Regions from separate parts of the Homo sapiens genome. Here region 2 is linked to region 1. Evidence: promoter capture Hi-C in 16 types of primary human blood cells and fetal thymus (Javierre and others, 2016). All regions are on one chromosome and are shown on one strand. The core of a region is centred on a gene start or on the middle of the fragment in contact, and the rest is flanking DNA. Distances in the headings are between cores, read along the strand shown.

Region 1 (7,369 bases), core at 2,326-4,825:
TTCCTGAGCAGAGAGACTACTGGGTAAGGTGAAGACTGTTCCTCAAGGTCCAAGGAAAAGTCAGGGAAGAGCCAGAGTTAGGCTGAGAAAGGAGAAGAAAGAGCGTGCAGCATGGAATGTGATGGCTACACACAGTCAATGCATGCAGCAATGAATGAATACTTGAATTTAAAAAAAGAAATTAATAAATGCATGTGTTCTGTATTCCCTCATTAACCTCACCTTCTTCATAGTTCACATTTATCATGGCTTATATGTCTCCCAATTCACAGATGTTCATAAATCATCAGGAAAAGGCAAGGAAGTCAGGAGCAAAGTCTGAAAGGATTCCTCCTGGCCTATCATGGCTCACATACACATGACATACCTGTATTCAAGAAGCAAAGTAGCGAATGCATATTTCTGGTAGAGGACAGTACAATCAGACAGCGTTTCCACGTTTGCACAGTATTTGCCATCATGTTGCTATAAAAGCAGCATAAGGCGCTTAAAATTTGAAAAAGCAACCCATTTGCTTCAAAATAGTATGAAAGGGAAGGGCTGGGTGCAGGTAGAAATGAAGCAAGATTGGGATGAGTGGATAATTTTTGAAGTGAAATGATGCAATATGGGATTTCTTTATACAATTCATTCTACTTTTGTATATGTTTGAAGTTTTCTGTAATAAAACATAAAAGAGAAAAGAGCACTTCAGATGATTCTGTGTGCCTTCCTCCAAACCCTCACACCACGGATAAACACTGGTATACCAGATGTCTTAGGTGTTGAGCCATCAGTTAGATAAACTCAAGATCCTCCTTTCTCAGGAGATGTCTCTTCTGTAGGCAAAAGAAAGGGAGATCAGACTGTTACTGTGTCTATGTAGAAAGGAAAGACATAAGAGACTCCATTTTGAAAAAGACCTCTACTTTAAATAATTGCTTTGCTGAGATGTTAATTTGTAGCTTTGCCCCAGCCACTTTGACCCAACCACTTTGATCCAATCTGGAGCTCACAAAAACATGTGTTGTATGAAATCAAGGTTTAAGGGATCTAGGGCTGTGCAGGACATACCTTGTTAACAAAATGTTTACAAGCAGTATACTTGGTAAAAGTCATCGCCATTCTCTAGTCTCAATAAACCAGGGACACAATGCACTGTGGAAAGCCGCAGGGACCCCTGCCCTTGAAAGCGGGGTATTGTCCAAGGTTTCTCCCCATGTGATAGTCTGAAATATGGCCTCATGGGATGAGAAAGATCTGACCGTCACCCTGCCCGACACCCGTAAAGGGTCTGTGCTGAGGTGGATTAGTAAAAGAGGAAAGCCTCTTGCAGTTGAGATAGGGGAAGGCCACTGTCTCCTGCCTGCCCCTGGGAACTGAATGTCTCGGTATAAAACCCAATTGTACATTTGTTCAATTCTGAGATAGGAGAAAAACCACCCTATGGTGGGAAGCCAGACATGTTTGCAGCAATGCTGCCTTGTTATTCTTTACTCCACTGAGATGTTTGGGTGGAGAGAAACATAAATCTGGCTTACCTGCACGTCCAGTCATAGTACCTTCCCTTGAACTTAATTATGACGTAGATTCTATTGTTCACGTGTTTTTCTCCTTACTATCACCCTGCCCTCCTACTACATTCCTTTTTACTGAAATAATGAAGATAATAATCAATAAAAACTGAGGGAACTCAGAGACCGGTGCCGGTGCAGGTCCTTGGTATGTTGAACGCCGGTCCCCTGGGCCCACTGTTGTTTCTATACACTTTGTCTCTGTGTCTTATTTCTTTTCTCAGTCTCTTGTCCCACCCGACTAGAAATACCCACAGGTGTGGAGGGGCAGGCCACCCCTTCATCTTCCTTTCAGGAACACCTTTGCTTTCACTTCATATCTACCACAGTGTGGAGCAGGTTAATTTGTGAATAGGGAAACACATGAGTCAGACATTCATGACTCCAACAGAATAAGTCCGTTTTCTTCTCTGTCTCGCTATAAAGACTAAGCCTCACCCACATGATGTGTCACCAGTGTGCAGGGGCAGCTGCTGCAGCCTGGGGACAAGAACATCAAATGTCCGAGTCTGAGCTGCCTGGTTCGTGTTGGATCTGTTGTTTACCAGCTGGGGGACCTTGGCAAGTTACGTAACATGTATCACACAGTGGCAGTGTGAAAATTAAATACGGATAAAGTGTCTAGCCAAAAGTCTGGCATTTAGCCGTACTCAGTAAATGCAAATTATTTCCTTTCCTGTCAGAACCTGCTACTTGGCAGCAGCAACAAACAGGAATGGAAGCTGGTATGATTACCATCTATTTATAGCTGCTGTCCCAGCAGCAAGGGGAGCCTGGGGAGGGAGCACCTCCCTCTGGGGATATTCTGTGTCTGGGTAGGTTCCTTGGATTGAGGAATTTAAAATTATTTTGTAAAATTAATATTTGTGGGCTTTTTGTAATAAAAATATTAAGTGATAAATTTATAAAATGTGTAAAATGCGTAAAATGCATAGGTAAGCACAAATAAGGAAATAAAAACTATGCATAATTTTATCACCAAAATAATCATGTTAACATTTTGTGGTCTACACATATACACACACACACGCACACACACACGCACACACACACGCACATATTTCTATATATTCTTTGGCTTTTTCTTTTTTCTGAGATGGGGTCTCACTCTGTCACCCAGGCTGGAGTGTAGTGGCATGATCTCGGCTAACTGCAACCTCCGCCTCCCAGGTTCAAGAGATTCTCCTGCCTCAGCCTCCTAAGCAGCTTGGACTACAGGCGTGTGTCACCATGCCCGGCTAATTTTTTTCACTTTCTTAGTAGAGGTGAGGTTTCGCCATGTTGCCCAGGCTGGCCTCGAACTCCTGGCCTCAAGTAATCCACCCACCTCAGCCTCCCAAAGTGCTGGGATTACAGGCATGAGCCACCGTGCCCGGCTGCATTCTATATATTCCATGTACTGTTTGGTCACTTGCTTTTCTCACTTAACAATATATCAAAAATATTTTTCAAATCATTAAAATTCTTTCTACAAAATCACTTTAAAATGGCTGCCAAGTATTAACAAAAACTGACAATTCTTAACAATATTTCAATGGACATTTTCATAAATCTTTGTACGTATTCATGATACATTAGGTAGATTCCTGGAGATAAGGTGCTGGGTCAAAGTATGCATATGTTTAAAAGCATGAAACATAAAGTCATGTTGCCCTTCAAAAAGATTATATCAACGTATATTTCCAGAACATCAATCATTCTTGTGATCTCAGAGCTGAGGAGTGATTTTAGTTTATGAATTTATTCATCAAATATGTATTGATGGCTCCCTGTATGGCTTTTTTGCTGGTCATGGGACCCTCCCCCAGATTTCACACCCACATCCGATATTGGACACACCCTCTAAACCCAAACATTGCCAATTCCTGGCACCTGCCTCAGCTGCTGCTCAGAATACTGAAACAAGAGCCCTCTCCCAATGTGAAAGATCTTCCACTCAAGCCTCCTGAAAAGTAGTCCCTGCTAACCAGTCACTGACCCACTCGTGCTCCTTTTCTTTCTGCATCTGTGGTGGGAGTGACTATGGCCTGGAGTTTCCGTGCAAAAGTCCAGCTCGGGGGGCTACTTCTCTCCCTCCTTGGCTGGGTCTGCTCCTGTGTTACCACCATCCTGCCCCAGTGGAAGACTCTTAATCTGGAACTGAACGAGATGGAGACCTGGATCATGGGGATTTGGGAGGTCTGCGTGGATCGAGAGGAAGTCGCCACTGTGTGCAAGGCCTTTGAATCCTTCTTGTCTCTGCCCCAGGAGCTCCAGGTAGCCCGCATCCTCATGGTAGCCTCCCATGGGCTGGGCCTATTGGGGCTTTTGCTCTGCAGCTTTGGGTCTGAATGCTTCCAGTTTCACAGGATCAGATGGGTATTCAAGAGGCGGCTTGGTCTCCTGGGAAGGACTTTGGAGGCATCCGCTTCAGCCACTACCCTCCTTCCAGTCTCCTGGGTGGCCCATGCCACAATCCAAGACTTCTGGGATGACAGCATCCCTGACATCATACCTCGGTGGGAGTTTGGAGGTGCCCTCTACTTGGGCTGGGCTGCTGGTATTTTCCTGGCTCTTGGTGGGCTACTCCTCATCTTCTCGGCCTGCCTGGGAAAAGAAGATGTGCCTTTTCCTTTGATGGCTGGTCCCACAGTCCCCCTATCCTGTGCTCCAGTGGAGGAGTCAGATGGCTCCTTCCACCTCATGCTAAGACCTAGGAACCTGGTCATCTAGGACTGGCTTCTGCCAAGGATCTCTGGAATAAAGGAATGTCTGTAGACTCCTTTCTCACTCTAGGTTTGTTTGCTTCATTTTGGGGCTGGTGGTCACTGTCCCACTTATCAAGGATGTGATTGTCTTGATGATATGGTAGTCCTCATTTCAGAATAAAAAATCAGGGCACAGTGTCTAACAAATGTATTTTTCTGATTTGAGATTTTATTTAGATAAAAATGCTTTAAAAAACTCATAACCTTAATTACATATTTGATTCTTTTATTACTAAGGAAAAATATATTACAAAATTGCAACCATCAGAGAAAATCTAGTGTGAAGAGGCACTTACTGTTCTGAATAGGTTACAAAAATAAAACTTGAAGAAGGTACCTTGGCAAAGGAAAATGAATTATTGTTCCAGAACAGCATCTTAGGACAGAAATTCTCTTTGTGTCCATTTTCAGCCTCAGGTGTACCATTTGAAAGACAACTTCACAATATACCTTTGCTGTTTTATAGATCCTTAATATCCCAAAGGAGAGACATAGGCTTGTTTCTGCTACATTGTGAGGCGATGAGCAGTCTACTCTGTCTTCCCCACCTGAAGGTTAACAGTCAGTCTGAGTGAGTGGTAGGGTGACCAACCCTCCTGGTTTGCCCAGAACAAGGTACTTTTGGTGCTAAAACTAGGAAAGTCCCAAGCAAACTGGGACCCAGTGATTACCTTAGAATGACTGTGTCCAAATACTGCCCAATGTGGTCATGTATATGAAAGAAGTAGCTTCTCAGAAATGTCTTTTACCAAGTGCAAAATCACAGTATAAACTCCTTGAATTTTGTTTTGCTGTGTTTTTTTGTTTGTTTGTTTTTGTTTTTGAGACAGGGTCTCACTCTGTTGCCCAGCCTGGAGTGCAGTTGCATGATCATAGCTCACTGCAGCCTCAAACTCTTATTAGGCTCAAGGGATCCTCCTGCCTCAGCCTCCTGAGTAGCTGGGACTACAGGCATGAGCCACCAAGCTCAGCTAATTTTTAAAATATTTTGTAGAAATGGGGTCTCGCTATATTGCCCAGGCTGTTATCAAACTTCTGGCCTCCTCTTAAATTTTAACCTGAGTGTCAGCAGACCTACCCAGGTTGTGGCTACAAATCAAGTCCCTTCCATAACGATAACCTAAGTTCCTTTGCTTGCTCTGCCTGCAATGGCAGGCTCTCTCCTGACTACCCCACCTCAGGTCTTCCTCTGGCATTTCTGCAGGTCCTCAAGGAGGAGCCTCCTGTTGCTCATAAACCTGTTTGTCAGCTGCAATTATCCTGCAGCATCCACCTTGTTCCTCTCCCTGCCACCTGTCCTCCACTCCTGTAATCAGTTCAAGAATCACCATTGGCCCTGCCAACAATTCCCTCAGGAGAGCAGCTAAAGGGGATGGCTCCTAATGCCCTAAGTAGGTCACTTCTCCAGGTTCAGAGGCGTGCTGCATTCCTCACAGTACCAGGGACATTCCGCCCTCCCCAAGCTGGTGCTGTGCTTTGTCATCTCAGCTCTGAGGTCTCACAACGCCTCTCGCCTCCTGATAAAATAGCCCCAATATCACGAGATAGCCATTGCTCAAGCAAGAATACACAGACTATGACACAAGAGTAAAAAAATTTGCCAAAGTAGCCCAGGACAGTTCCCTCCTTAGAAAAATGCCATTTTTTTTTTCCTGCTGAAATGGAGTCTGCACAGGTGCAACTTCATCTTCTGCAACTCTTACCTTCTTACCCAGAGCAGATTTCTCTTGAAGTCACAGTTTCTCCAGAAAGCTCCTTCTCCTTTTATGCCTGTCCTTTTGTGTATGTCTACTTGGCACGCACAAATCAAAATGATCCCTAGGCAAATACAGCTCTGAGTACAAAGGGCCAGTTTGCATCAAAGGTGTATTCTGGCTTTCTGTGTCTGGTAAGTCAGAAAATGGTTTCCAATGTCTGTTTTATTAGCTACTCCTTCTCAATAAAGTTTCAAAGCTCTTTGGACAAAGTTTCAATCAGGGGTGAGGCTCAATTATCTAAGCATTTTCTTGACCTTCCAGGGTCTACATGAAAGAATAATTTCATTATTATTCATCCATCTGATCATTTATTCACTCACTTAACAAATATTTATTGAGCACTGACCATGTGCTAGGAACCAGTATAAAATGGTAAGACAAAATATATTCTTGTCCCTCATTCAGGCAAATTAGGGAGATAATTTTTTTTTTTTTTTGAGACAGAGTTTTGCTCTTGCCCAGGCTGGAGTGCAATGGTGCGATCTTGGCTCACTACAAACTCCGCATCCCAGGCTCAAGCAATTCTCCTGCCTCAGCCTCCCAAGTAGCTGGGATTACAGGTGTGTGCCACCACACCCCACTAATTTTGTATTTTTAGTAGAGACAGGGTTTCACCATGGTCAGGCTGGTCTCCAACTCCTGACCTCAAGTGATCCACCCGCCTCGGCCTCCCAAAGTGCTGGGATTATAGGTGTGAGCCACCGCACCCAGCCAGGAGACAAATATTAATGTAAAATCACTCAAATAAACGTAAATAGTAACTTTGACAACCTTTACAAATTTGGAAAGGGACATGGTTCTATAAGATCATCCAATAGTTTAATCAACCTTTATGAATGTAAAAAAGAGAAAAATATATATACATAAAAAAATCATGCAATAGGAGGGATTTAACCTAGTCAGTGATTCACGGATCAGTACTCAAAGGAAGCGATTACTGGCTGAACAATAAAGGGTGGGTAGCAGTTCCAGATGAGGAGGGGAGATGAAGACGCATAAGGTGAAGCTGGCAAAGTAGGAAGAAGCCAGACCTTGTAGGGCCTTGTAGGCCTCAGTAAGGAACATAGTCTCTATTCTCAGGACCATGGGAAGCCAAGCACGTGGTCCGGGAACAGGAGCTTGGCTTCCAATTGACTGCAACAGTAACCTGCTCTCCTTTGTCTAATGACTTGTCTCTGTGAAATTTCCTTATCACATGGTTGTGTTGGGCTTGCAGGTGTACAAAGCACTTCTACAAATTTTGGTAGTTTTACTGAACATATCTTGAAATGTTTTTGAGTTTTGGAAGAGCAGATATTATTAGTTTTGCTAC
Region 2 (6,448 bases), core at 1,425-3,924, 1.7 Mb before region 1:
CAGGCAATATATTAAACCATATTCCTGATAAAGCTAGAGAATATTCCTGTATTTTTCAGAGGTAATCACAGTAGTGCTACAGCAATTATGACATTTCTTGGCACTTTTGCATGGATTAAAACAGCTCACCTTATTACAAAAGTTAAACAGTATTAAATTTGCATAAAGATACACTAATTGTAATTATATTATCAACAAATAAAGAGTTTTACTTGAAATGCTCTCAACCAAGTAAGATCTTGTCCATTCCTAATAAAATTTTTACAATGTGCTTTCTCTCAATTATTTGTACCTGATATCTCAGTTGTATCTTCTGGTTTGCCAACAGTTAGAGGTACTGGATGAGTGGTTGATTGGGGAGCTGGGATCCTTGTCCACTGACACAGGTTGATAAAAAGTATTTTTTCTTTTGGTTTCTGGAAAGCAAATAATTTTGCACATCTCAAAACCTAGTTTAAAACCATTTAAGGCCAGGCATGGTGGCTCCCGCCTGTAATCCGAGCACTTTGGGGGTCCAAGGCGGCCGGATCACCTGAGGTCAGGAATTTGAGACCAGCCTGGCCAACATGGTGAAACTCCGTTTCTACTAAAAATACAAAAATTAGCCAGGTGTGGTGGTGGATACCTGTAATCCCAGCTACTCGGGAGGCTGAGGCAGGAGAATCGCTTGAACCCAGGAGGCGGAGGTTGCAGTGAGCCAAGATTGTGCCATTGCACTCCTGCCCGGGTGACGAGAGTGAAACTCCATCTCAAAAAAAACAAAAACAAAAACATTTAAAAAATAATATCCTAAAAGCCACTCACCACAGGAATGAAAGAATTTTAGGCTCCAAGTAAGTCATTTCATGTATTAAAACTGCGTTTGATTATACTGTTGTTATTTGATTTCCCCAAGGCTGCTGGCTTTTAATTAGGAATCCAGACTGGGGTGGTGGCTCACGTATGTTACCCTAGTACTTTGAGAGGCTGAGGTAGGAGGGTTGCTTGAGGCCTAGGAGTTCGAGATTAGCCTGTGAAACATAGGGAGACCCTGTCTCTACAAAAATCATTTAAAAATTAGCCGGGTGTGGTGATGCCCACCTGTGATCCCAGCTACTTGGGAGGCTGAGGTGGGAGGATCGCTTGGGCTGCAATGAGCTGTGATTGTGAGCTGTGATTGTGCCACTGCACTCCAGCTTGAGCGACAGAGCCAGCAAGACCCTATCTCAAAAAAAAAAAAAAAAAAAAAAAAAAAAAGTCTGCCAGGCGCAGTGGCTCATGCCTGTAATCCCAGCACTTTGGGAGGCTGAGTCAGGTGGATCACCTGAAGTCAGGAGTTCAAGACCAGCCTGGCCAACATGGTGAAACCCCGCCTCTACTAATAATACAAAAATTAGCCGGGCATGGTAGTACACACCTGTAATCCCAGCTACTTGGGAGGCTGAGGCAGGAGAATCGCTTAAACCCGGGAGGCAGAGGTTGCAGCGAGCCAAGACCACACCATTGCACTCCAGCCTGGTGACAAAGTAAGACTCTGTCTCAAAAAACAAAACAAAACAAAACAAAACAAAAAAAAAACAAAAAAAATTAGCAATACCTAAGTGTAAAGTATTCTCTGGTTATTCTGGGATCATTTCATTCAAGACCTCCCCATCCCTGGCACCAACTCGACATACCAGAATCCTGGTCTGTAGACAAAGCTGTGGTTCTGGGGCAGCACAGAGCTGTTTCCCTTCTTTCAGCTGCTGCTGAATAAACTTCTCATAGCCCTCAGGGTCACTCTGAGCTAGATCATCTAGGAGGTTCCAAAACTGAGTAACTTGGGTAAGCAGACCTTTTGAGGATGTCTCCATGACTTATGAGTGGTGAATAATTTTCTTAAGCCTGTGGAAAAACACGACTTCAGGAAGAAAACTGTCTGTGTAATTATTGATTCATTTCTGCTTTGGGGAGGTGGAATGGGTCAGGAATTGTTTTGGTGAAGTTAGGACAGCATTTGTGTCTAAAAGGTTGTGGATCAGCACCACTTTATGTTTTCCTTATTCTTTAATTATCTAGTACCTCTTCCTAAATTCTCACATTGTCCTCTCAGATAAGGCCTTACTTCTATTTGGACCCTGACAAGTCAGAGTAATCATTTTAAGTCTGGGTTTCCTGATCTTCTTGTTCCAACACCTGACTGGTGGCTCCCCAGTTCTGAAATTGCCAGAGGTGTGGTGTGGGGTGAGGGCCACATAAGACTTCCTTAATCCTCAGTATAGTTTAGTATTTCAAAGCATGGACTTGTGAGCCAGAATGCCTAGATTCCGGTCTTAGTTCTATCTCTCACTAGCTCTGTGACCTTGAGCAATTAATGTTCTGTTCAAAATGAAGACGATAATACCTCTACCATAGGATTATTGCGAGATTAAGTAAGCTAATAGAGAGGCTGGGACACTTCTCTACGTCTTCAGATAAATCTCCTTAGCCTCTTCTCCCATTGGAGAGGTGTCCCACAGCATCTTTAGAATGAGGAAAAGAGGTTTAGATTCTTCAATTACTGTGTAAGGGTTATGCTAAACGGGAAACTTAACTAACGGATAATCATTCCATAGGTCTGCAAACCCACCTCTTCTCTCAGTTCTAACGGGTAATCATTCTATAGGTTGGCAAACCCACCTCTTCTCTCAGTTCCTTGACAAACCGCGACGCCTGTTACCAGGGTAACCAGCCTGGGTACAACATCTAATTGGGTCCGGGGAACTTCAGGGAGAAAAGTCTCTTCATATCTAGTTCCGGAATGTCCCCCTTCTGGTGCCAGGCTTGCTTTTCAGTTGGGCCTGACCCACTTCTCTTCCAGGAAAGCGCCCGCCTTCCTTCTGCACCCGTCAACCTCTGGAGTGTCCTGAAAACCCTCCCTTGTGGGAGTCTCTGGGCTGCCTGTTGGTGGGACGATTTCTCAGGAGCACGACTTCCGGCCTGAAAAGGAAGTCTCCTCCTTTTTCTCCCAAACCACTTCTTCCCCCCTACCCCCCGCCACGCGAGGCTGCGGCGCACGGTATGGGTGTGTTTGTGTGTATTTGTGTGGGGAGGGCGTTTGGAGGGAAGGTTACCGGGAGCTCCGAGGCCGCTGGGGAACAGGGATCCCGGTGACAAAGATGGGGATATTTCCTCTGTCTTCCACTTGGAAACCTCAACCCCCGCTTCAGGCTCCCTAGATACTTTCTGGGGCCCAACCGAAGGCCGTAGCCATCCAAAGCGTTCCCAGCCTTTCTGGGGAGTGAAACTTACCCCCGGGGTTCGTCCTAGAGGAGCGTGAGCGGGGAATGCCCAGGTCAACCGGGCTGTCCGAATTCCGCCCCGGCTCAGCCTCCGGCCTCAGTCCGGGAGAGAGATCTGCCTGTCGGTCTGGGCTGGGGGAAACGCGGCAGTGGCCTGGGCCACAGGTGAGGGCAGAGTAACCAGTGGGAAGGCTGCGTTTTCACGAAGGACTCGGGTGAAGCTGCAGAGCTGCCTTTGAGCCCTGACTCCTTGGCTTCCTGGGTCGGAGGAGATCTTGTAATGGAGTGGTTCTTCGTCTCACTAGCAAGATGCCTGATTTCCTCAGGATCAAGGGGTGAGTGAGCGTTGGGGTGGTTGCACAAAGCTCCTGCTAGCTACACACGAAAATATTCTTGTCATCTAGTTTTTGGAAGCTTCCGTAGCAAGTAGGAAATAAAATGCCCCCAAATGGAGAAATTTAGGACATCTTTGCATTTGATGTTTTGAGTAATCAGTTTCTGTTACTGTTGACACCCGTGGTTCCTGACACTCTCAAATCTACGTATTTGCTTCAGTGCAAACTATATTGGGATTGGAGGTTTGATTTTTAATTTAGACAGTGACATACATCATTTGCCTGGGACTATGTGGCTTGGGACGTTACAGCTTTAAGGGAACTTCATCTACAAAATAGGGATGGAGATACTTGCCTCATATAAAAAGTAGTTATGAGGATTAAATAAAATGGTGCTCATGAAAGCACTTAATTTTATGTAGTCTTGTGCATTTTCAAAGAACTTTAATGTACATTATCTCCTTTCATCTCACATTAGTGTGTTTAGGCATTTCCCTCTTTTAATGGTAAAGGGAAAACTATTCTTTAGAATCTCTGACTTCTAGTTCAGTGATCTTTCCTGTACCTCATATGCTTCTTTATAAAACTTCAAGAAAAGATAAAGTAATAACAGAAATTATTACTAAACGTTATTTGTTGATTCATTTCAGATTGAAGAATGTCCCGGATTCCACTGGGGAAGGTCCTCCTGAGGAATGTCATCCGGCACACAGATGCTCACAATAAGGTGGGAGGTACAACCTAGTTACTCCTCAACGCTTACTGAAGGCAAGCAGTGTGCCAAGCATTATTTTGGAACAACTGGGAGATACAAAGAATATTCTTGTCATCTAGTTTTTGGAAGCTTCCGTACACAGTAGGAAATAAAATGATGAATAAAATAGATAATTATAATACAGTTTGATAAGTACTGTATAACAGAGATATTTGCAAAGTGCTTTGGAGCACTAAGGAGGAAATAATAAAATCTACACTGGGGAATTAGAAAAGATTTTACAGAATTAGTGGTATTTCAGCTGCTGATCTTTGAACTGGTTCTTGAATAGGTATACGTTTACCAGGTATGAAATATCATTCTGGATAGACAGCATCATGCATTAATATGGCAACGAGAAAGAGCATTAATCACTTGGGGCATGGCAAGAAATTTATCCAGAAAGCAGGGAAGGTAGGGGATAGTGGCAGAAGATAAGGCCTCAGTGGTAATTAGAGTTGGATTGTGATGTTTGGAGCTGAGACTTCTTCCTCTAGGCAATAAAGAAGCCATCAAATGTTTTTAAACAGGGTGTGGCATGATCATAGTTATATTTTAGAAAGATGGTTTGTCAGCTGGGTAGGGAATGAATCAGATGGGGAGATACAGAAGGGAGAGTAATTAGGAGGCAATTGCAGTATTACAGGTGAGAGATGATGAGGGTTCGCATGAAATTAGTGACAGCAGGGATGAAGAAGAGGAATTTAGGAGATAGAATCCAAAGAAGTTGGTGGCTAATTAGATTATAATGATAAGAATGGAATCTAATTCAGTTGACCCTTGAACAATGCAGGGGCTAGGGGCATCAACCCCCTGCATAGTCGAAAATCCATGTATAACTTTTTACTCCCTCAAAATGTAAGTGCCAATAGCCTACTACTGACTGAAAGCCATAGCGATACCATAAACAGTGGATTAACACATATTTTTTATGTTACATGTATTATATACTGTATTCTTATAGTAAAGTAGCTAGAGAAAACAACATTTCATTAAGAAAATCACATTGAGTAGGCTGAGGAGGAAGAAGAGGGACTTGTTTTGCTATCTTACAGGTGGCAGAGGTGGAAGAAAATCTGAGGATAAGTGGACCTGCACAGTTGAGATTCCTGTTGTTCAAGGTCAACTGTGTAACCACCTATGTGACTGGGTAGATGATGACAATTCTGTTAATTGAGATAAAGAACAAAAAATGGGACAATTATGATAGGAAAGGTAATTAGTTTGGTTTTCAACATGTTGATGGTGAGGTGCTTATAGGATGTCCAAGCAGTTGAAAATTCAGACTTGGAGTAGAGGAGAAAAGTTGGGGCTGGACATAAAGGTTTCGGGATTATTGATGTATAGGTTGATGATAAGAGGTCATGAGAGTAGATGAGGTCACCTAGGAGAGCACATATAATGAAAAGAGGGCCAAGGCCCCTGGTTTAGTTTTCTTCAGTAAACTGTACTACTTTTGGTTTGATCATATTATTATTATCATATCACCTGATTTTTAAAATTATGGGCGAGGGTAAAACTGTTACCCGAGCTGCCTATGCAATTATGTTAACCTGCCCCTAGTTATATAGTAAGCTTAGATTTAAAATGGTAGCTAGAAAAAGATAAATCTAGCACAGATCTAATGAAATTATGCAGGAAGACTTAGAAATAAAATGTGTTCTTTGGGTAATCACATTCTGCTTTTCAAGAAATTCCCTAGCAGCCATACTGATTATTTTATTTTATTTTATTTTTGACAAAAATTATAATATTACCAGAAGAGATTTAGCTTAGGGAGTTTAAAGACCTGTCCTTACTAGTTTTTTGACTTTGTTAAAATCTCTGAGCTTTTGTTTCTTTACAGTAAAATGTAATAATGGTAGCTGCTATATTTTCCTCATGAGATTGCTTAAGGTTCAATTGAGATGATATAATTAAAATCATATTGCATTTTGGAAATGTGGCATTATCATTTGCTAATCGCAGCATAATTGCAAGATTGATAAGGTGATGTTTGTCTGTGCAGCGGTTTAAAAATTCTATTGGGGAAGATTTCCACATATTTGAGATTTACTGGATTGGACTGTTCAGCCACTTTCTAGAGAAACCAATTTGTTTTCCAGGTTCCTGATCATAGC

Evidence for each region. Contacts are between HindIII fragments. The CHiCAGO score rates a contact against its expected background, and 5 or more counts as called.
Region 2: the fragment with the promoter of PIH1D2 here is called in contact with the fragment with the promoter of CLDN25 in region 1 in 1 of 17 cell types (activated CD4 T cells); the score reaches 6.6 in activated CD4 T cells.

The regions. Positions count from the first base shown.
Region 1 is chr11:113,776,221-113,783,589 of GRCh38, forward strand. CLDN25 (claudin 25) reads left to right here and starts at 3,576. Exons shown (of 1, transcript NM_001101389.1): 1 at 3,576-4,265. The coding sequence starts at 3,576. The coding sequence ends at 4,265. The HindIII fragment of the contact is 9,706 bases long and covers 1-7,369 here.
Region 2 is chr11:112,071,343-112,077,790 of GRCh38, forward strand. It overlaps PIH1D2 (PIH1 domain containing 2), which reads right to left and starts at 2,675. Exons shown (of 6, transcript NM_138789.4): 1 at 2,638-2,675; 2 at 1,656-1,863; 3 at 293-416. The coding sequence starts at 1,832. NKAPD1 (NKAP domain containing 1) reads left to right here and starts at 2,957. Exons shown (of 6, transcript NM_018195.4): 1 at 2,957-3,574; 2 at 4,225-4,301. The coding sequence starts at 4,233. RefSeq lists enhancers at 2,760-2,809, 3,220-3,339, 3,400-3,449. The HindIII fragment of the contact is 10,336 bases long and covers 1-3,651 here.